Linked DNA regions of Homo sapiens: region 1 is linked to region 2. The links are contacts of gene promoters, found by promoter capture Hi-C in blood cells and fetal thymus (Javierre and others, 2016). All regions are on one chromosome and are shown on one strand. The core of a region is centred on a gene start or on the middle of the fragment in contact, and the rest is flanking DNA. Distances in the headings are between cores, read along the strand shown. Region 1 overlaps MYOM1 (myomesin 1). Region 2 holds the start of EMILIN2 (elastin microfibril interfacer 2).

What was found. Contacts are between HindIII fragments. The CHiCAGO score rates a contact against its expected background, and 5 or more counts as called.
Region 1: a fragment that was not itself captured here is called in contact with the fragment with the promoter of EMILIN2 in region 2 in 4 of 17 cell types (activated CD4 T cells, naive CD4 T cells, naive CD8 T cells and 1 more); the score reaches 6.5 in activated CD4 T cells.

What each region holds. Positions count from the first base shown.
Region 1 is chr18:3,108,956-3,113,718 of GRCh38, reverse strand. It overlaps MYOM1 (myomesin 1), which reads left to right. Exons shown (of 38, transcript NM_003803.4): 22 at 1,307-1,421. Among named protein-coding and RNA genes, the nearest start is that of LPIN2, 98 kb to the right of the region's middle. The HindIII fragment of the contact is 1,849 bases long and covers 1,684-3,532 here.
Region 2 is chr18:2,843,784-2,848,750 of GRCh38, reverse strand. It overlaps EMILIN2 (elastin microfibril interfacer 2), which reads right to left and starts at 1,745. Exons shown (of 8, transcript NM_032048.3): 1 at 1,429-1,745; 2 at 820-942. The coding sequence starts at 1,562. RefSeq lists silencers at 768-857, 1,478-1,527. The HindIII fragment of the contact is 11,570 bases long and covers 1-2,789 here.

The sequences.
Region 1 (4,763 bases), core at 1,359-3,858, 260 kb before region 2:
AAAAATGTTGATAAAACATTAACAGTATTGGTAATAGTAATGAGATTATTCAAAACCCAAAGAAAGTTACAAAAAATTAAGTAGGAAACCAGGCATGGTGGCTCACTCCTGTAATCCCAACACTGTGGGAGGCTGAGGTGGGAAAATTGCTTGAGCCCAGGAGTTTGAGACCAGCCTGGGCAACATGGAGAAATCCCGTATCTATAAAAAAAATTGTTTTTAGGTAGCCTGGTGTGCTGGCACATGTCTGTGGTCCCAACTATTCAAGAGGCTGAGGCAGGAGGATTGCTTGATCCCAGGAGGTCCAGGCTACAGTGAGCTGAGATTGTGCCACTGTACTCCGCCTGAGCAACAGAGTGAAACTCTGTCTCAGAAATACATACATATATATATATATATATATATATATATATATATATAGACACAAACACATACACACATATATATACATACACATATACACACATAGATGTGTGTGTATATATATATACATGTGTGTATATATATATACATGTGTGTATATATGTATGTGTGTGTATATATACATGAAGTGGGACTGTCATACAAAAATAAATTATAAATGCTTTTTTTTTACAGCTCTTAGTAATTCTAGTTTAGTGGCACATATGTAGTGGATTCTCAGCACACATCTTGATCATTAAAAACTTGAGGATTTAGAATTTTAATACACTTTGGTTATTCACAAATTATTCAAACTCACAATTGTGTTAATTTCATGTCTATTTAGTAAGAAATAGCTATATTAAATTTACAGGAACAATTATTGTTTGTTTTGGTTTTAGTAGTTTAACATGCTTTTAAACAAATGGAAAGTGTTCATGATTCATGCTTTTAATTCTCCTCTTTTGCCAAGAATTCCATCTGAAATTATTCATGGAATGTCTCAAAAGGATTGGGGGGAAAAGCGACATATATGCTATAATGAGCACTTTGTATTTTGTCCTTTTGACCAAAGAATACAGTGGCTAACGCATGTGACACCTACGTACACTAGTCTCTGTTTCTGATGTTGGTGGCCACTAAATTAACTAAAAAGGAGAAACATCAAAGTGAGAATGGATATTGGAAACTCCTCTCTATCTACAGATGGTCTAGAGAGAAGACCATCTACAGCTAAAGTCACCTGCGTAGTGTTTGACAGAATCAAATCTAGACCACAAGTCTTGTATCCCTGGTGCTAGGTCACTAAATCATTACTACAGAGGAAGAGCCCCGTCTGTTTAAATGACATAAAACAGCCACTGCTTCATCAAACACCCATTGCTTCTACACCTGCTTCTACCAGGTTCGAGGCCTCAAGGAGGGCGTCAGCTACGTGTTCCGTGTTCGAGCCATAAACCAGGCGGGAGTTGGGAAGCCATCTGACCTTGCTGGCCCTGTTGTGGCAGAGACCCGTCCAGGTGGGCTTTCACCTTTTCATTAAAACTAATCCTATCTGTGTAAGATACTGAACTAAGGTTCGGCCTTTCTGTGCTTTCCTCTAATTTTCAAAACAATCAATGTGTGCTATCTGAATATAATTGATAAGTAATGATCTTAGAACATGACAGTCATTGGTCCCATCACAGGCACCTCAGGACAGGGTTGAGCCAGGTTTGACGTGGTCTAGGGGCTGTTCTGATGCATACCTAAAAACCCGGAAGTTCTTGATCAAGTTAAGCTTCCCGGACCAACTGTTCCAAGCATTCATTCCTGGAATGTTATTCCTATTACACCCTGGCCATTAAGTCTCATAAGAATATTTTCCCAATCATAGGGGAAGCTAGAACAGCCCAGCTAGTGGGCACAATCCTTAAACGAAAGTAGGATTTATGTAATTGTAGCTATTATGTTTAAACCAGAGGTCAGCAAACTTTTTCTGTGGAGGGCCAGATAATATTTATCACTCAACAGCCCTGTGGTCTCTGTCACAACTTCTTAACTCTGCCATGACACAAAAGAAGCCATTGAGGATACATAAACTAATGAGCATGGCTGTGTTCTAATAAAACTTTATCATGCACATTATATGTATTATATAATGTGATGCGTTATATGCATTATAAAATTTCAATCTTGTATAATTTTCCTGTGTTTTGAAATAGTAATCTTCTTTCAATTTTTTCAACTATTTAAAAATATAAAAACCATTCTTAGCTTGCAGCCCTTGCAAAAAGAGGTAATGGGCCAGATTTAGCCCACAGGCCATAGTTTGCTGACCCCTGGGCTAAACTAACAGTGGTCCCAACTGAATGGTTTATAGATTCGAGGCAGCCCTCATTTCCCAGTTTCAAAGATGCCGTGATTACTAGAGAAGACAGACTTGCCGTTTCTTATGAGAACAGAGTTTACTGTGTTCATTGTCCAACGAGTTTCAGATCATTACATAATAATTTCTTTTATCATTTAACCTGTATTATTTTTCAACGTTATCATATATTTCAGTTCATTAAAGTTACATAAAGGAAAGCACCGGAGGCCAGGCACTGTGGCTCATGTCTGTAATCCCAACACTTTGGGCAGCTGAGGCTGGAGGAACCTAGGAATTCGAGAGCAGCCTGGGCAACTTGGCAGAACCCCACCTCTACCAAATTTTTAAATTAGCTGGATGTGGTGGTGAGTGCCTGTAATCCTAGCTGCTCGGGAGGCTGAGGCAGGAAAATCGCGTGAACCCAGGAGGCAGAGGTTGCAGTGAGCTGAGATTGTGCCATTGCACTCCATCCCAGGCGACAGTGAGAGACTCCATCCCAAAAAAAGAAAGAAAATTTAAAAAAGAAAACTGCACTTGTATTTGCTTGCTAACTGATCTCTTTCATCTGCTAGAACCGTAGTTTTCAATCTTGCCTGTACATTAGAATCATACGAGGACTGTTTTGAAAATACTGCTATCTGGACTCAACTCCAGACCAATTAAATCAGGATCTTTAGGGCTGATGGGATGATGACAGAAGATCAGATATTCTAAAAAAAAAAAAAAAGAAAAAAAAGAATCTCTTAGGCTGGGTACCTGAACATAGGCTTATTGCTGTTTGTTTGTTTACTTAGCAATTTGGGTAATTCCAGTGTGAAAACAGGCTTGTGAACTGTACTTTAGACCATAGCTCCTCAAAATAGGAACTGTGTCTTTTCTGTACATGTGCTGAGAGTCTAACATAGTACCAGGTATATAATAGCTAATTTATTAAATGAAAAAATAATGAATGACTAGCATGTTTGCCAGTGAGTGTGACACTGTCTTGAAGCCTCAGTGTGTGCACTTCACCCCAGTCGTCTTGTACTGCCTGCCCTGGTTATGATGGGTGAGCTGGGGAAGAAATGTCTGGTGGAGGCTCCAAGGTGGGCATGAGGCTGAATGGTCAGCCGCCAGTCCTCGTCTGAAACCCAGGGCAGCTCAGTACTACACGTGACCCATTACATTAACTCACTTTCCTCTGCTTCTATTCTGTCCCATGCTTCAGTTTTTTAAACATCACCACACACACACGCACACCCCCACGCACACCCACAGCATGGAGAACAAATAATTAAAGCTTATAAAAGTGATATATTCATGCTCATGTAAAACACTTTATATGAGAAAGAATTATCATATCAGATTACAAAATGTATAGGAACGTGAACAGTTTACTGTGATTTTATTTAAGCTTTTAAATTTTATCCTTTATTATCATTTTTTGTGGGGAAGAGAAAGAAAAGTGGGATGAAATGAGTTAATTTCCAAATAGTTCATTTTAGTCCTGAGCCACACTTGAACCCATTAGGATACCAGGAGTTCTGGGCAAGCCTTGGAGGGATCATTGGAATGCTGTCTTGGCCCTGTAATCCCAACACTTTGGGAGTCCAGATAGGAGGATCACTTGAGCCCAGGAGTTGGAGACCACCCTGAGCAACATAGTGGGACCTGTCTCTATTAGAAAAGAATAGGAAAGAAAAAATAATAATAATAGTAATGTAAAATGAGATCTGTTAAAATCAGTTATCTCTGTGTCTGTATTAAGGATTCGCTTAGGTTGAGGAGTTGACTAGTGACAACTCTTCTTAAATCCTTTTTAGGCAACAACGACAACAACTCTCTCATGTTCTATACATAAACCTCCTGAGATCTTAGTTAAGTTCTTCACATTCATGAGCAGGTTAAGAGGTTGTTTCTGAGAAAATCTAAGTTATGCCAAATTTTGGTCCACTTTTCCAGCCCAACTTTGTGGGAAAGTGGGATGGCCTCTCATCTGGATAAGAATACCACAAAGACCACTTTACTTTGATAGCAGAACATCAAACTTGCTTCCTGCCCATTAATTATCAGAACCACATCCCTCAATCAACTTGAGAGAATATGCCTCTTTAGGCATTTCTCAGAGTTCAACCATAATTAATTGATAGGAGCTCAGCTCTGGAAAACCTCAGCTAAGTTGTGGGATATTCTAAAGAGAAAATTTGGCTAGGTACGGTGATTCACGCCTGTAATCCCAGCACTTTGGGAGGCCAAGGCGGGCGGATTACCTGAGGTCAGGGGTTCGAGACTAGCCTGGCCAACATGGTGAAACCCCATCTCTACTAAAAATACAAAAAAAATTAGCTGGGCGTGTGGCGGGCATCTGTAATCCCAGCTTCTCAGGAGGATAAGGCAGGAGAATCACTTGAACCTGGGAGGCAGAGGTCACAGTGAGCCAAGATCACATCACTGCACTCCAGCCTGGGCAACAGAGCAAGACTCCATCTCAAAAAAAAAAAGGAAAAAGAAAAAGGAAAATTTGAGGAGGATG
Region 2 (4,967 bases), core at 496-2,995:
ATGTGTTCCTCAACAGCCATTTATTCACACTGGCCCATCTTCCGGTATCAGACTGATACAAAACCCCCAAAGACTTGCCTGATGACAATTGAATGAGTGTCATGTATTTAACGGCATTTGTACTTTATTGCATTGCTTCCTGTTTTTTTTTTTTTTTAAGATGGGGAAATCTTTATAAGCAAAAAGATGATTAATTCTTCCCCCTGTCTTTAACGGCCATTCTCTCCCACAATCTCTAGAGAATCTCCAAATCTAAGTTGCGGGGAGGGATGCTGGGGAGCCACACTTTTAAGCAAAGTGTTCCTGAGGTTTTAGCTTAGACATCTACAAAACTGGAAGATTCCGTTTTATGGGGACATACGGACAGAACTCACTCGTTTTAGAACACTACTTAGCCAAACCTCTCAGCGAATCCTATACGGAATAGTCTTTAGCAGTATACATTTTGGAATCTTCTGTGTGCCCCAGAACACACAATATGGATCCAATTAGATTCAGCTGCCTTATGTTACAAACAAACATTGAAAGGGAGAAAACAGAAGTGGGAGTGGGAGCTTTGTTCATCCTCTCCTACGCCCCCGCGACCCCACACTCCCGAGGCGCGCGCATCCTCCCCACTCACTCGGGCAGCACCCACTCCCTAAATAGCCCAGCGTGGCCGGTGCCCCGCGAGCGCTCGGAGCGCTTTTCCGCTGCGGGCTTTTCACCGGATCTGGAAGGGATTTACCGGAGGGACTGGAGCCCAGCGCAGCAACCCCACCCCACCCCCACCGCCCCGGCCCGGGCGCGCCCCGCCCGCTCCCCGGCTCCAGGACTTACACCAGCGCCGACGGACAGGGCATCTGGTTCCAGGCACAGTTGTACTGAGCCTGAATAAAACTCTCACTTCCCTCCAGCACGGAGCAGCTCACATTCTTGTTCACGATGTAGGCGCACCAGTTCCTGGGGTGCAGGAGAGAGAGGGAGAGGGGCACGGGGTAAACCCGGAGAACAATGAGGCCAGGGGAGAGGGGACTGCGGCACCAGACCGAGCGAGGGTCGGGGGGGCCCGTCGCCCTCTGCGGAGGCGGGAGCTTCACCGAGCAGACGCCGGAGGGTGCCCGGGTGCGCCTCTGGAGAGCGCGCGCCTGGACCCGACCAAGACGGGAAAGAAAAGCACCCATGGTCCCAGGGGCTCATGGAATTCCTGGGAGTCGTTTTCGGATCGCCCGGGTCTGCGGGACGCTCTCTGCGCCCACGCCCCCGGAGTCAGCTCTGCCTGAGGCGCCGGCTGCGGAGCGCGCGGTCCCCCGCAGAGGGAGCCGCCCGGGGAAGTCCAAGGGAGGCCCCCGGCTGCCGCTCGTCGTCTTTGGCAGGGCAGCTCTGGGGCTCAACTGGGGGCCGGGGAGGGGTAGGCGGTTTGGGGCCAGCCAAGGGGCGCGCACTTACTTGTTCCTGGCGCTGGGCCGCGCGGGATACCCGGGCTGCGGGCCGGCGTGGCACAGCCCCGCGCCAACCAGGGCCAGCAGCGCCAGCGCCCAGCGCCAGGGCACGCGGGGCCAGGGCCGTCTGGGCTGCCACATCCCGCGCGCAGCGGGCGCGCCCCGCCTGCCCGGGTCCGGAGCGCGGCGGATCGGGGCACCGGCCACAAGGCTGCCGGCGGCCAGGGCGCCGCCCGCGAAGGCAAGAGGCTCGGGCGCTTCGCGGCGCTCCAACCAGTGCTCCGCGGCCGCCCCCTCCGGCTTCTCGTTCCTACTTCTCCTTCTGCAGCCCCGTGCGCCCTGCGCTTCTCCCCGGTCCCTCAATGACGCACAGGTCCCCCCGGGTGCCGCCCTCTTTATTTCACTTCCCTCTCCGAAACGTGACTCTCCCCCCACCAAGTCTCCCCGTCTCCAGTCCCTTCGCTTCTCGGCAGGGGGCTCGGGGTGGAGGGGCGAAAGGGTTTGGGATAAGGGTCTACGTTACAGCATTTCCAATGACTCATTCCTTTGGTCTCTTCCCAGATGCCGAGCGACTCCGCCTCCCACCTTCCGACAGGCTCGCTCCCGGCCCCCCGGGACGCGGCCGCCGTCGGCGAGTCTGGCCGTCCTCGCGTCGTGCCTGGGTGCCAGCCTCCCGGGGCGAATGAGGGACATGTTTATCAGTCCCGCGGGGAGAGGAGTGGGGGCTCGACTCGAATTTCCTCCTCGGGCAAGACAGGGCCGTTCCCCCACCAGCTCCATGGACCTAGAGAGTCCAGGAGGAAACGAACGCTGGTTCTTTCTTTGCCCAACTCTGCCTTAGGCACCATCTGACAGTTTCCGAGGCCACGCGGGGGGCGGCAGGACAGGACAAGCCACAGCCCCGCCAATTCCCAGAGGCTGCTGCAGCTCAGCGTCCGGCTCTATCACTTACTGCAATTCTCCTCCAATTCTTGAAAGGTGATCTCACAGCCTCTGCTTCTGAGGTCCCACTGTGAACTTTCTTTTTCTATTGAAACTAAGGCATTTACTCACGTTTGCTTCTTAACAGTTCAGGCACTGCTAGACATCCGTCTTAAACTTTCTTGTATGTTTTCTGCCTGTTGTTGAGTTACACTAATCTCTACCGATGTCTTTTTGGGATGAAGTACCAGAATGTTAAGTAAAATCACCACCCAAGTGTTGTATTCTAAGGGGTGTTGGAGAGAGCTGTGTGTTTGAGATGACCTGCTGCATCTAATCAATGTACAGGGTCGTGAGTGGCGTGGTTACCAGACTCCACAGATAAAACTGTGGCCTCTGTGAGCTAACCAGACGCTGTTGGCCATGACTCGTTAAGTGAATAAAGCTTTGCTATGGGCCAGGCGGGGTGGCTCACGCCTGTAATCCCAGCACTTTGGGAGGTCGAGGCGGGTGGATCACCTGACGTCGGGAGTTCAAGACCAGCCTGACCAACATGGAGAAACCCCGTCTCTACTAAAAGTACAAAAAAAAAAAAAAAATTTGCCGGGCACGGTGGCACATGCCTGTAATCCCAGCTACTTGGGAGGCTGAGGCAGGAGAATCGCTTGAACCAGAGAGATGGAGGTTGCAGTGAGCCGGGATCTCACCACTGCACTCCAGCCTGGGCAAAAAGAGTGAAAATCTGTCGCAAAAAATAAAAAATAAAAACGTTTGCTATGTTCCTACTTTACTAAATGAAGCCATTGGTCTATTTTGTTTCTAATATTCTTTGATGGTGTTGTTGGACCTTTTGATTTGCAGATGAAAGAAAGAGAAGTCCCTAAGTAGAAACTACAAGGGCCAAGCAGAACATTATACCATGTAAGGACATCATCTGTCCCTGGACTCTTAAGCGGAAGATCATGCAAATAGTGGACTGAAGTCATCCCAGCCTTCAAAAGAGCCACCGTGGGGGGGAAATAACAGAAAGGGATAAAAAGCTGTCTTTCGTAACCCAATCTGTATCTTTCTGTGTGACTTCCCTATCCTGCCTGTCCTAACACCATCTTGGCCGTAAAGACTCATAGAGTAGAAACAGAGTATAGAAATGAAGAAGAGGAAGAGGGGGGGAAATGGGGGAAACACACAAGTTGTGTGTGTCTACAATTAGCAGAGAACAACTCCAATGTGTGTCTGGTACAGGTAAATCTCAAACTTGAAAGTGCATTGAACTGATCAAGTCAATCTGTTTTTTCCGTCAAATCAAAGTTATAATAGGAAGTTGTCTAAGAGTATAAGGGCCAACTTGTCATTGAGATGACCACAATACTATATTTAATCAGCTATCAATAACATTTATTGGTAAATAAATTTCATTCTGAGCATCTGTTACAAGCTAGGCATTGTGCAAAAATACTGAGGATTCATGAGTGAGCCCAAACTGACACGGGGCTTGTGTTTGGAGAGCTTCCAGGCATTGCCATGCAATGAAGGGTGTTAGCGTTCCTGATGGACAGTCAACTAAGTGAGCTAATGTTTATTGCATGTCTTTCTCTAGACATAAGCCCATGTATGTTATTGTGGGTCTGCCCCTGGAAGACAGAACATTCTTGACTTTCAGAAGGTTACTTCCCTCTTTTGTATTTTTATTTATTTATTTGGGGGAAAGGGTCTCACTCTGTCACCCATGCTGGAGTCCAGTGGCATGATCATGGCTCACTGCAGCCTCGACCTCCCAGGCTCAAGCAATCCTCCTACCTTAGCCTCCTGAGTAGCTGAGACCACAGGTGTGTGCCATTACACTCAGCTAATTTTTTGAATTTTTGGTAGTGATGGGATCTCACCACGTTTCCCAGGCTGGTCTTGAACACTTAATCTCAAGCCATCCTCCTGTCTTGGCTTTTTAAAGTGCTGGGATTTCAGGCATGAGCCACTGTGCCCGGCCTATTATTCCATTCTTTTACTTTTTTGTTTTTTTTTTTTCTCTTGAGATGGAGTCTTGCTCTCTCATCTAGGCTGCAGTACAGTGGTGCAATCATGGTGCACTGCAGCCTCGATATCCCTGGGCTCAAGCAATCCTCCTGCCTCAGTCTCCTGAATAGCTGGGACTACAGGCGCACACCACCATAACAGGCTGATTTTTTGTATACCATCACAGCTCACTATAGCCTCCAACTCCTGGGCTCAAGTGATCCTCCTACTTCAGTCTTCTAAGCAGCTAGGAGTACAGGCACACACCACCATGCCCAGCTAATTTTTTATTTTTTGTAGAGATGGGCGGGGGGGTCTAACTTTGTTGCCCAGGTTGATCTTGAACTCCTGGTTTCAAGCAATCCTCCTGCCTTCGCCTCCTAAAGTCTTGGGATTACAGGCATTAGCCACTGTGCCCAGCCACAAGGTTATTTCTTGATTTGAGGCCAAGATCCCAAGAGACCCTCTTTGTTTTCTCTACTCCAGCTGGAGGAAGGGATGCAACAAACTCAGGAACCAGAGAGCCCTGCATAAGAAACAAGACAGAGGGAAGCTTCCGGAGGATAGAGAGCTTCAGCACACTAAGAAACAGACTAATTGGGCAGGACTTCTGAT